Regions from separate parts of the Homo sapiens genome. Here region 1 is linked to region 2. The links are contacts of gene promoters, found by promoter capture Hi-C in human tissues and cell types (Jung and others, 2019). All regions are on one chromosome and are shown on one strand. The core of a region is centred on a gene start or on the middle of the fragment in contact, and the rest is flanking DNA. Distances in the headings are between cores, read along the strand shown.

Evidence for each region. Contacts are between HindIII fragments. The study calls those that stand out against the background at their distance.
Region 1: a contact is called between a fragment that was not itself captured here and the fragment with the promoter of SPDYE4 in region 2, in 2 of the 25 tissues and cell types used here (lymphoblastoid cells and small bowel).

What each region holds. Positions count from the first base shown.
Region 1 is chr17:8,924,249-8,930,214 of GRCh38, reverse strand. The region is part of intron 1 of PIK3R5 (phosphoinositide-3-kinase regulatory subunit 5); the gene reads left to right. Among named protein-coding and RNA genes, the nearest start is that of PIK3R5, 38 kb to the left of the region's middle. The HindIII fragment of the contact is 6,135 bases long and covers 1,478-5,966 here.
Region 2 is chr17:8,754,560-8,760,958 of GRCh38, reverse strand. It overlaps SPDYE4 (speedy/RINGO cell cycle regulator family member E4), which reads left to right and starts at 2,413. Exons shown (of 7, transcript NM_001394956.1): 1 at 2,413-2,685; 2 at 3,467-3,697; 3 at 4,523-4,581; 4 at 5,354-5,439. The coding sequence starts at 2,577. The HindIII fragment of the contact is 5,925 bases long and covers 1-5,828 here.

The DNA of each region.
Region 1 (5,966 bases), core at 3,296-5,795, 170 kb before region 2:
TAATTGAAAGTTTGGTTGTTTTAAGGCCCAAGATATGATCTATCTTAGTTTATGTTCCGTAAGTACTTGAAAAAAATGTGTATTCTGCTGTTGTTAGGTGGAGTGCTCTAACATGTTTATTAGATCCTGTTGACTGATAGTGTTGTTGAATTCTTATGCATCCTTGCTGATTTTCTTTACAGTTGTTCTATCAGTGGTTGAGAGAAGGATGCTGAAGTCTCCGATTATTTCTTGTTTTTTACTGTTTTTAAATTCGATCGCTTTTGGGGTACAGGTGGTTTTTGGTTACATGAATGAATTGTATAGTTGTTAAGTCTGGGATTTTAGTGGATCCACCATCTGAGTAGTGTACATTGTACCCAGTAGTTGGTTTTTCATCCCTCACCCCCTTCCATGTCTCCCCCATTCTGAGTCTCCAATGTCCGTTATACAACTCTGTATTTCTTTGCAAACCCATAGCCTAGCTCCCACTTAAAAGTGAGAACATGTGGTATTCAGTTTTCTGTTTCTGCCTTAATTTCCTTGAGATAATGGCCTCCAGCTTCATCCATGCTGCTGCAAAGGACATGATTTTGTTCTCTTTTTTTGGCTGTATAGCATTCCACTGTGGCAGTCCCCACTTATAATTATGAGTTTGTCTATGTTTTCTTTCTGTTCTCTCAGTTTTTGCTTCACATATCTTTTTGGTGTGAACACATTTAGGTTTGCTGTGTCTTTTAGTGAATTGACCTTATGTCATTATATAATGTCCCTCTCTGCTTCTGGTAATTCTCTTTGCTCTGAGCTCCACTTTATCTGATATTAATATAGCCATTGCTGCTTTCTTTTAATTAATGCTTGCACGATATATATTTTCCCACCCTTTTACTTTTAATTTGTCTATATATTTATATATAAAGTGAGTTTCTTGTAGACAGCAAATGGTTGGGTTATGTTTTATAATTCACTACAAATCTCTGTCTTTTAATTGGCTTATTTAGTCCATTTAAATATAATGTAATTACTGATATGTTAGGGCTCAAGTCTGCTATTTTGTTATTGGTTTTGCATTTTTTCCTATGGACTAACTGAACATTCTTTAGAATTCATTTTTTATTTTATCTGTAATGCTTTTATATATATCTATTTGTATAGCTTTTTGAATGGTCACTGCATATATTGTTACTTATCACAGTCCACTGTTATCATTTTACCAGTCCTAGTGAACTGTACCTCCCTTTATTTCCCTTTACCTGCCTCCATTTATAATATGATTGTCTTAAATATTTACTCAGCATACATTTAATGCTACATCAGACTGTGTTATTTTTTATTCAGCCATCTAAGATAACTTAGAAAACTCAAGAGGAGAAGGAAAATCTATTGTATTTACCCAGATTTTTCCCTTTCTTATTATTTCTTCCTGATGTTCCAAGATTTCTTTCTTTTATTATCCTTTTTTCTGTTTAGAGAATTTCCTTTGGCCATTCTTCTAGAGTAGGGATGCTGGTGACAAATTATTTCAGTTTTTCTCCCTCTGAGAGTATCTTGATTTCCTCTTCATTCCTGAAGGATATTTTTGCTGGATATTGGACTCTAGGCTGACAGTGCTTGTCCTTCAGCAATTAGAATATGTTATTCCACTTCCTTCTAGCATTCATAATTTTTGATGAAAAGTACACTGTCATTCAAATTATATTTCATCTAAGATAAGGTGTTGTTTCTCTCTTGATCCTTTCAAGATTTTTTCTTTGTCTTTAGTTTTCAGAATTTTGACTATGAGATGTCTTGGTGTGTATTTCTTGGCTTTATCCTGTTTATGGTTCACACAGCCTCTTAAAACTGTAGTTTTATATATTTTGCCAAATTTGACAAGTTTTATGTGATTATTTATTCAAGTACTTTTTCAGCCCTGCCTTCTTTCTCCTCTCCCAGGAGGTTCTCCTCTTCAGGTTCCACACTCAGCCTCCATTGCCAAGTTTTAAGTGATTATTTCTTCAAGTAGTTTTTCAGCCCGGCCTTCTTTCTCCTCTCCCACTGGTACTCCAATCACATGAATGTTAGACCTTTTGTCTGACATTACTAAGGGGTAGAGTGGGAGTTCCAGCTACCTATTAGGTTTTGTCTTTGTTTGTGCTGCTATAAAGGATACCCAAGGCTGAGTCATTTATAAATAAAAGAGGTTTATTTGGCTCACAGTTCCGCAGGCTGTACAAGAAGCATGGCATCAACATCTGCATCTGGTGAGAGCCTCAAGCCACATGCAGTCATGGTGGAAGGTTAAAAGGAGCTGGTGTGAAGAAATCACATGGTGGGAAACTGGGTGCAGGGGGAAGGTGCCAGGCTCTCAGGGGAACTAAGCTGGTTCCCAACCAGTTCTCAGGAATGAAGAGTGAGTACTCACTCACTCCCATGAGAATGACACCAAGCCATTCAGAGAGATTGGCTCCAACCATCCAAAGACCTCTCACCAGGCACCACCTCCAACACTGGAGATCAGATTTCAACATGAGACTTGGTGGGACCAAAAAAAAACATATCTAAGTTCTAACAGGCCTCCACTGATACGTCTCTGGCTAGAAACGGTAGGAGTGCCTCCTTACAGCTACAATGCCACCACAGCAGAGGGGATGACCTCATTACTTCTGGGCAGTGGTAAAAGTCTTGACTCCCTGCTAGGCTTCCTCTGACATCATCTTATCATGGAGGTGTCTCTTTACTGTCTGGTGGGGGTGGAAGTCCAGGCTCCTCACTGGTGTCCACTAACACTGTGGAGTGGGAGGGGGCTAATTACCGCTAATGGAGATAAAAGACCTGGCTATCTACTTGGCTTCTTCAGACAGTGGCCATGGCAGGGGATTTGGGGAACCTCATTACGGCCTGGCCAGGGTGGAAGTCTAAGCCGATTAACTGGCTTTTGCTGGTGGAGGTGGCACCACAATTTTCCCTGTGGAGTTTGGCTGGAATAGAGCAGGTATTGTCTAAAAGTGTCTGTCTTGCTAAGTTGCCTCTTTCCTCAGGCTTTGGCTAGAGAGAGCAGGCTTTTGTGAGGGCTTTATTTTAAATCTGCACCCATTTTTTCAGATTGCTGGCTGTTCAGCTCCAAGTCTGGAATCTATAAGGCAAAAAGAGAAGCCAGGGAACTCACCCATGCCATTCCTTGTCCCCAGGGTCCCTAGCCTGTGTGCCTTCTCTCTCTCTTTCAGGGTCTCTTATGTTAGTTTTATATATATTGTTCAGGGCTTGTAGTTGTATTTCAAATGGAATAGGGAAAAGCATATCTACTCCACTTACCCAGCACCATTTTTTAATTTATATATATATAACCTCTGTTATCTATGTGATAAAAAACAAGGCATAAAATATATATTATGAAAAATGTTTAATAAAAAATAAAAATTATTCCTATTTTTACCTCCCAGATATAATTTCTGTTAGCATTTGGACGTGTAACCATGTTGGGTAGTGACATGGTTTGGCTCCGTGTCCCCACCCAAATCTCATCTCCAATTGTACTCCCATAATTCCCATGTGTTGTGGGAGGGACCTGGTGGGAGATAATCTGAATCATGGGGGCAGTTTCCCCCATACTGTTCTTGTGGTAGTGAATAAGTCTCACGTGATTTGATGGTTCTATCAGGGGTTTTACTTTTGCATCTTCCTCATTTTTCTCTGGCTGCTGCCATGTAAGACGTGCCTTTTGCCTCCTGCTATGATTCTGAGGCCTCCCTAGCCGTGTGGAACTGTAAGTCCAATTAAACCTATTTTTCTTCCCAGTCTCAGGTATGTCTTTATCAGCAGCATGAAAATGGACTAATACGGGTAGTTTTTCTTTTGACATCGATATAGACATTTTTTTTCAAACTGGAAGAACCTTAGGGTTCTTTTGGATCCTGGGGCATTTCATAAACCCAGCTCTTCTGAGCAAAGCTTCCCAAAGCAGTTGCCTCTCTGTCACTTCTCTCTCCTTAGCCCATTCCATTTGGTCTTTTCTTCCTGCACTTGTTCTTTCATGGTCACTCAAACCCTCCATGTCACCAGATCCAGTGGCCACTTCTCTGCCCTCATGCTGTAGACCTTGCAGTGGCATTCCTCACTCCCTCCTTGAAACATGCTTGTTTTGGATCCTGTCACATCGTGTTCTCCTCCTGCTCATGAGCTGCATCTTCTCAGTGTCTTTTTGTGATACTTCCGGTGCCACCTCTTAACACTGGAGGTGTTCTCCTCACTCTTCTCGCTTCACATGGTTCACAGCCTCAGTGACCACAGCACCATGTGAACTCCCAAATAGAGAGCTGTAGCCCAGACCTCTCCATTGGGGTCTGAAGGGGATAGAACTCGGACAAAGCAGGACTCTTGTTTTCCTCTCCCAAATTGTCCTCTCCCCAAACTTCTCCATCTCAGTGAATGTGATGCATCTATCTGCATTAAAGGAAAAGACAAAAGGGGATGAAGCATCCAAGGAAAAAGTGCACACCCACTTGGGGACCAAAATGTACTCAGCCATGATGCAAGCTGTACCCACTTATTATAGAGATTTTGGCCTGAACCTAAGCCTGGATTTTCTTAATCCATTTCCATCTGATTTAGACATAATGTCAATCCCTCATTCTGGCTTGTCAGTGTTGGTTTCAGTTTGGATTGTATGCATGTGTGTTCCTTTTTTCTCTATCTATCTATCTATCCATCTACTATCTATCTACTATCTATCTATCTATCCATCTACTATCTATCCATCTACTATCTATCCATCTACTATCTATCTATCATCCATCTACTATCTATCCATCTACTATCTATCTCTCCATCTACTATCTACCTATCCATCTACTATCTCTCCATCTACTATCTATCTATCTATCCATCTACTATCTATCAATCCATCTATCTATCAATCTACTGTCTATCCATCTACTATCTATCCATCTACTATCTATCTATCTATCCATCTACTATCTATCATCTACTAGCTAACCATCTATCTATCTACCCATCTACTATCTATCTATCCATCTACTATCTATCTATCTATCCATCTACTTTCTGTCTATCTATCTACCCATCTATCCATCTACTATCTAGCTATCTATTCATCTACTATCTATCTATCCATCTACTATCTATCTATCCATCTACTTTCTATCTATCCACTATCTATCTATCCATCTATCCATCTACTATCTATCTATCTATTCATCTACTATCTATCTATCTATCCATCTACTATCTAACTATCTATCTGGTATATTTGGTGAGAAGTTGGGAGAGACTGCATCAGTGCCTGATGCCCTAATGTCATAGTAAGTTGTCCATTAGAGATCTAGAGAGTTCTAGACTGGGCTAAACGGGACTCTTGACATCAGCGTTTGTTTCATAAAAAGTTGTAAAAACCACACCTGGCCAAGTATCGGGAGGAGTGTCTGATTTCAGTTCTGTCCACAAACCTGATGAGTATCTGTTTTCTTGTTAGAGAGGTTTCGCTCTAAAGCATATTCATGAATGGGATGGAGGGGGAGAATTTGAGAGATTTTTCTTGCATAATTGGGCAGGAGTTCAAAGAGAGTAAAAAGGAGACTAGTGAAGATGTGCCCGTGTCTGAGAACAATGACCTGCTGTTGGATTAATGGAGAGAAGACGGGGTGGTAAATGGTTTATCACTCTGGAAGAGAAGAAAAGCTGTGCAAGGGAAAAGATAATGGATTGGACCAGTCTACCCCAAACTTATTCTGATAGTAAAGCATCTAGAAGTCACAGTGCTCTGGAAGGAGAAAAATCTTCCTTGCCCAAAACTATGAAATATTCATATCTGTCTTACAAACTAGAAATGATTCTACCTGTAGAAAGTGAGCAGCCTGTGTCAGGCTGCAGGTGGCTCACGCCTGTAATCCCAGCACTTTGGGAGGCTGAAGCCAGCAGATTGCTTGAGCTCAGGAGTTCAAGATCAGCCTGGCAACATGGTGAAACCCCACCTCTACAAAAAAAAAAAA
Region 2 (6,399 bases), core at 1,164-3,663:
ATGCGCCACCACACCCAGGCTAGTTTTTTATACTTTGGTGGAGACAGGGTTTCGCCAAGTTGCCCAGGCTGGTCTTGCACTGCTGCGCTCAAGCAATCCTCCTGCCTTGGCCTCCCAAAGTGCTGGAATTACAGTTGTGAGCCAATGTTAGGGGGCTTGTCGACCAGCATACAGGGGCCTTGGAGGCTGCTTCAAAAGTTCCCACTAAGCCAAGGATACAAAGCCTGGTGACAGCCCTCCCATGTGAGGCCCAGGTCTTACTTACCTCGCTCAAAAAATCTTTCCTGCTCATTTCATTCGAGAGTGATTTTGCTTTCTTTGGGATCTCTATTGCGCTGCCCCACCCAGAGAGTTCCAAATCTGAATGGACTCCAATGATGAAGTTAAATCAGCCCCCACCTCAGTCCTTTGGAATTAGAATCTGTGGGGCTGGGTCCTGGCATCTGTATCTTAATGTTCCTAGTTGAGATCCTTAGGCTGAAAGGCTGGTATTTGCAAAGCACTTCTTCTCCTCCAAACTCAGCCTCCGAACTAGCTGGGACTACAGGTGTGTGCCACCACACCAGGCTAATTTTAAATTTTTTTGGAGAGACGGAGTCTCACAACGTTACTCAGACTCATCTCCAACTCCTGGGTTCAAGTGATTCTCCAGCCTTGGCCTCCCAAAGTGTAGGGATGACAGGCAGGAGCCACCATGCCAGCCAATAAAGCCCTTCTGTTTCACTCTAATGATATCTTTGGTGCATAGCTACAGCCATTGTTGTATTAACCTGCATCACTGAAGGAAAAGAGAAGGGGAGAAGTGATAGTTTTGCTTTTCCCTGAACATATCAGATGAAACCTGAACTGTTTAGCTCATTTTTGGACAATGTATTGACATAATTTAAGATGGCTGCCTTATTGTAGCCTGTCTACAGAAGGTGCCTAGAAGACAGAGGAATATGTAAAACTGGCTTGAAGAGTGATTAATCAGAACTTTACGTGGTACAGAAGAGAAATTTTAATGGCAACAGAATATTGATCTTCTAATGTTTGAAAGCCTATTAAATAGGAGAGAAAGATGATTTTCTGTTTTGTTGTAAAAGGATCCAACCAGTTCTGATGGTTGAAAGCATCGTGAATGCGAAGGTCCACTCAATGTAAGCAGAGTTTCCTAACAATTGGACTTCCACAGCGACGGGATCTGCCTCCTCATTCAGTTGTGCCTTTCCCATCAGCGAGAGACTCCTAGGAGCCCATTAGGAAGCTGTGCCAGAACTCACAGGTTCTTTGGATGGTATCTGAGATAGTATCCAGCTCTTACATTTTTATTTTTTCCGAAAAAAATATTTTTGAGACTGAGTCTCACTCTGTCCTCCAGGCTGGTGTGCAGTGGTGCAATCATAGCTCACTGCAGCCTCAAACACTTGGGCTGAAGCAATCCTCCTGCCTCAGCCTCCCAAGTACTGGGACCACAGGTGTGTGCCACGATTCCTGATTACTTTGTTTATATTTTGTAGAGATGACGTTTTGCTATGTTGCCCAGACTAATCTTGAACTCCTAACCTCAAGTGACGCCCTGCCTTGGCCTCCCAAAGGAGGGAGATTATGAGCAGGAGCCCCTGGGCCTGGCTGAGATTTTCCCCTTAGTCTTTTTATACACAGGATATTTTATTCATAAAATACATAAATAGTAGGCAAATTTTGGGGTCAAGTGAAATAGATATGTTGTAATAGTTGATATATAGACCAGAGTTCCTTAGCTGAACTGGAGGGCAGGCTTTAGGTGATCCATGGATGCCCTGAACTTGTGGACACCATTGAAAATCTGTACGAAACCATGGACAGTCTCCTGTGATTTTCATTCCTCAAAATGTCTCTTGGACTCAAAGATGCCTGAGAGCAAAGGATGCATGTTCCCCTACTATAGGATCCAGGATAGTGAATATCAGTAAACATTCAGCAAAAAAGCTTTGCCACATTGAGTACTTCGACGTAACGTCTCCATTCAACAAGTCAATTTACCCAGGATCTCCTGTATATGTTAATCTCACTCTTGGAAGGACTCATCATTCTGCTTACCCTAAATTTCCTTCCACCTTCCTCCCTCTCTCACCAGACTAGACTCTGAAATGGGAAGGAGAAGCGGGGAGGAGAGCCCAACACCCCCTCAAGTTTAGAGTGGAGAGGACACAGCCTCTGCTGGGACAGGGAAAAGAGGAATGTGGAGACCCTGAGGATGCTTTTGGACAATGCTCAGAGGTTGGGACATTGCCAGGAGATACCGTTCACCCCGGATCTCCAAGAAAAGAGATCAGTCTGGCAGTTACATGTGTTTTTCTTCAAAGTAGTTGCCAGTTTGGAATGACCGATGACATCAGAGATTCCGACTTTCCTGATTGGAAGGACCGGACTCTGGTTGCTTGGGAGTTCAGGTGGACAACAGCAACTTCTCAGAACTACTCTTCACTCCTAACTTCTCCCGAGCCTCTAGAAGAGAAACGCACTCTTCTGGGTCCTAACGGAGTCTGGAAGAAGGCTTTGGACAGAACAGGGACTAGGTTTTGTGGACAGAAACAAAGTGTTTGGGAGAGATTATGGCCAGTGGTCAAGCGCGCCCCCCGTTTGAGGAGGAGAGCCCCCAGCCTAGCACAACGGTACGGTCCCCCGAGGTGGTGGTGGATGATGAAGTGCCAGGACCATCAGGTGAGGTGACTGGAGGGAGAAGCGATGGGAGATGATTGACTGAGGAGAGGGAAGGGGGCCAGTTACTGGGAATCTGAAGCACCTGAGTAGGGTGTGTGGGAAAGAAACGACGGACTCAGGAAGCCAGGGATCGGGGAAGGAGGGTGCAGGGAATGGGGCCAAGCATGGCCACGTGTAAAGAAAGTCTGGGGAGCAATGAAGGGGGTCAGGAGATGTGCTCAAAAGATGAGAGAGGAAGGCCGAGGCGGACGGATCACGAGGTCAGAAGATCGAGACCATCCTGGTTAACACGATGAAACCCTGTCTCTACCAAAAATACAAAAGTGAGTTGGGCATGGTGGTGCGTGCCTGTAGTCCCAGCTACTCAAGAGGCTGAGGCAGGAGAATCATTTGAACCCAGGAGGCGGAGGTTGCAGTGAACCAAGATTGTGCCACTGCACTCCGGTCTGGGCAACAAGAGGGAGACTCCATCTCAAAAAAAAAAAAAAGAGAGAGAGAGAGAGAGAGCAGACAGAGCTCAAGGGAAGGTTTCCATTTTTCTCCAATTGAAAGTTCTTATCTGTGATGAGGAAATGTTTTGAGGACAGAGAGCCGGAAGAATGGGGAGGTGAGGGAGAGGCAGATGGGGATCAGCAAAGGAGAAAGGTGGAAACATGGCTTGGAGAAGCTGACAGTCTGCGAGGCTTGGGAGGATGGAAGAGTAGTTTGAGGTTCCTGGGTCGGGGCGTCTAAGGTGATCAATGGCAGAAACATGACACCATGGCCTGGTTTCTTCACTCAGCCCCTTGGATAGATCCCAGCCCCCAGCCTCAATCCCTTGGCCTGAAAAGGAAGAGCGAATGGTCAGACGAATCCGAGGAGGAGCTGGAGGAGGAGCTGGAGTTGGAGCGCGCCCCTGAGCCCGAGGACACCTGGGTGGTGGAGACGCTGTGTGGGCTCAAGATGAAGCTGAAGCGAAAGCGAGCATCCTCCGTGCTCCCTGAGCACCACGAGGCCTTCAACAGGCTCCTTGGTAGGAGGATACCCCAAAAAGCACCTCCAACCCTGTTCTTTTAAAAAAGTGGAATCTTTCAATAATCACACTTTCCCAATAAGAAGAATATGCCCTCCTGGGGGATGAGCGCTCCATGCAGGAGGAGGATGCTTAGGAGATAGAGGATTAGGCTAGTCTTAATAAAGGTCTGCACTTGAAATAAGAAAGCTTGGTTTCTGGCCAGGTGCAGTGGCTCATGCCTGAGATCTTGGTGCTTTGGGAGGCTGAGGCGGGAGGATCTCTTGAACTCAGGAGTTTGAAGTTGCAATGAGCTATGATTGCACCACTGCACTCCAGCCTGGTTGACAAGGAAAGACCCTGTCATAAAATAAATAAAATAAAATAAAATAAAAGATAAAAGAAAGCTTGGTTTCAGCTGTACCCTCTGAAACTCTATGTCTCTTGATGACTTTTCTAAACCTAAGTGTCTCCATCCGTGGAGGGGGATAACAAGGCCATGGGCACACCCAGCTGTGACTATCTCAGGAAGCAATGATGGGAATTCTATTATGACTTCTGCAGTGGTCCCTTCCTGTCTGATGGGAGGACATCATGGCTTATTCACAGCTCTTCATCCTGTAGACTCTGACACCAGAGGCCTCCTTCGGCCTCTCCTCAGGGGAATCTCAGAGCGGGAGCCTCCCTCCTTGCCCAGTGAAAGTCCTTCTCTCCTCTCCCATCCACCTAAGCCTTGGCCACAATCCTGAGACTTCCCCCAGAGGGACACAGTTCTCCTCTCTGCTCTGCTGCTCCCACGGCAACCCTGTTCCACTTCTCACCCTGACACAGGCTCTCTTTTCACAGGGGATCCTGTCGTTCAAAAATTCCTGGCCTGGGACAAAGACCTGAGGGTGTCAGACAAGGTAAGGTTGTTCTCCACTCAACTGTGTTCCTGCTTTAACACACGTCCTGGGGAAGGGTGCAGCGTCTAAACCCACAGTTTCTCTCCTCTCTCCCTCTACCATCTCCCACCTGCTGATTCCATACTCTTGGGCGCCCACATTTTGATTTTTATTTTTTCAGAAACAGGGTCTCGTTCTGTTGCCCAGGCTGGAATGCAGTGTTGCCATCATAGCTCACTGCAGCCTCAGCCTCCTGGGCTCAAGTGATCCTCCCGCCTCGGCCTCTCCAATAGCTGGGACTCCAGGCGTGAGTCACCGCCCCCAGCTATTCTAGGTCTTCTCATAATTTGTCAGCATCTCCCTCGGGGCTCTGGTAGCCTGTTGCATAGTTGATGGGTGGCCCCTGCCTCTGCACAGGGTCCTTTGGAATCCAGGCCCTGGGCCAGTCTTGAAACTCCTGACCCCTATCCTCTCAGATCTTTGGGACAGTCCTTTGCCCCAGCTCACCAAGACCCTCCTGACATTAGCAGCCCTAGACACTCTCCCTCCAGTGATCCCACTGGAGCTCATCATCATGGGAGCATCACAGACCTCCCTCCCTCCGACTTCCCGGATTTGCAGCTGACTTTGAACACTCTCCACCCGCAAGCCCCCAATGAGCATAGTCACCCAACACTGAGGTTCCTTCTGTGATAGACAACCGCGCCCCAGCCCCTGTTCCCTTCTCTCCACCATCTTCCTCTTCCAGGATGTGACCAACCTTTCTCTCTCTCTACTCCCTTCTCTCCATCAGTATCTCCTGGCTATGGTCATAGCGTATTTTAGCCGTGCCGGCCTCTTCTCGTGGCAATACCAACGCATTCATTTCTTCCTGGCTCTGTGAGTAGTTTGCTTCTTCCCATCTGTCAATATCCAACACCCTGGGACAGTGGACGAAGTGGGATTCCAACCTTCCATCTATTTTTTTACCCTACTTCTCCTCTTTACTCTGTATATAAAAACGATAAGATTATACTATGGTGTTCTTAGTCTGTTCTTTCTAAAAACAAACACAAATGCAGTTGACAAATAGTAGAATCAAACAAAAGGAAACATAAACCCGTCCTAAGGGGAAAGGAAAGCCGTGGACACGACCCTGCTCCCCAAGCAAGCAGCCATTTCTGGTTCTCTCGTCTCTCTCCTTCCCATATCAACACCAAATGCAATTTTCCATCCTCCTTCTCCAGGTTCCCATGACAGAGGCAGAAATTCAGGTCGTCCTCGCATAACACAGATCCATCATCAAATACTCCCTGCTGGGCATTCCTGCGAGTCCTGCCCCAAGCCAGGGGGCTTCCTAGTGCTGCCTGAATAGCTTTCCAAAGCACAGCTCCCACCCCCCCTTCACTGCCCACCTGAACAACCTCCTTAGCTGATTTGTCTCTAAACGGAGGCCCGGGTCCACAGGGCTAATTCAACCCTCTCTGCAGTCCTTCTACCACCAAACCTGCCCACCATCTTCATCTTTCCTTGTTTGCTTTCGCCACTCCTTCCAAATGCCCTCCACTCCATTTTGATTTTGTGTTTTCTGTCTGGGTGTCCTGCACACATGTGGATCTGAAGGGAATGACCCATTCCTTAAAGTCAGTTCAACCCCACAGCCTTTGCAATGCCTCCCCTGATCTTCCAGCTTCTGCACGCCCACAGCACTTTAGTGACATCCTAGGATAATGTGACATTTTGGATTCGTTTATCTGCCCTCCTTTTCCCCAAACCCATCAGAGTAGACCCCTGTTGAAGGCAGGGTCTTGTCAAAATATCAAAGTTTTTTGTTTTTATCTTTACCGGACAGAGACTTGC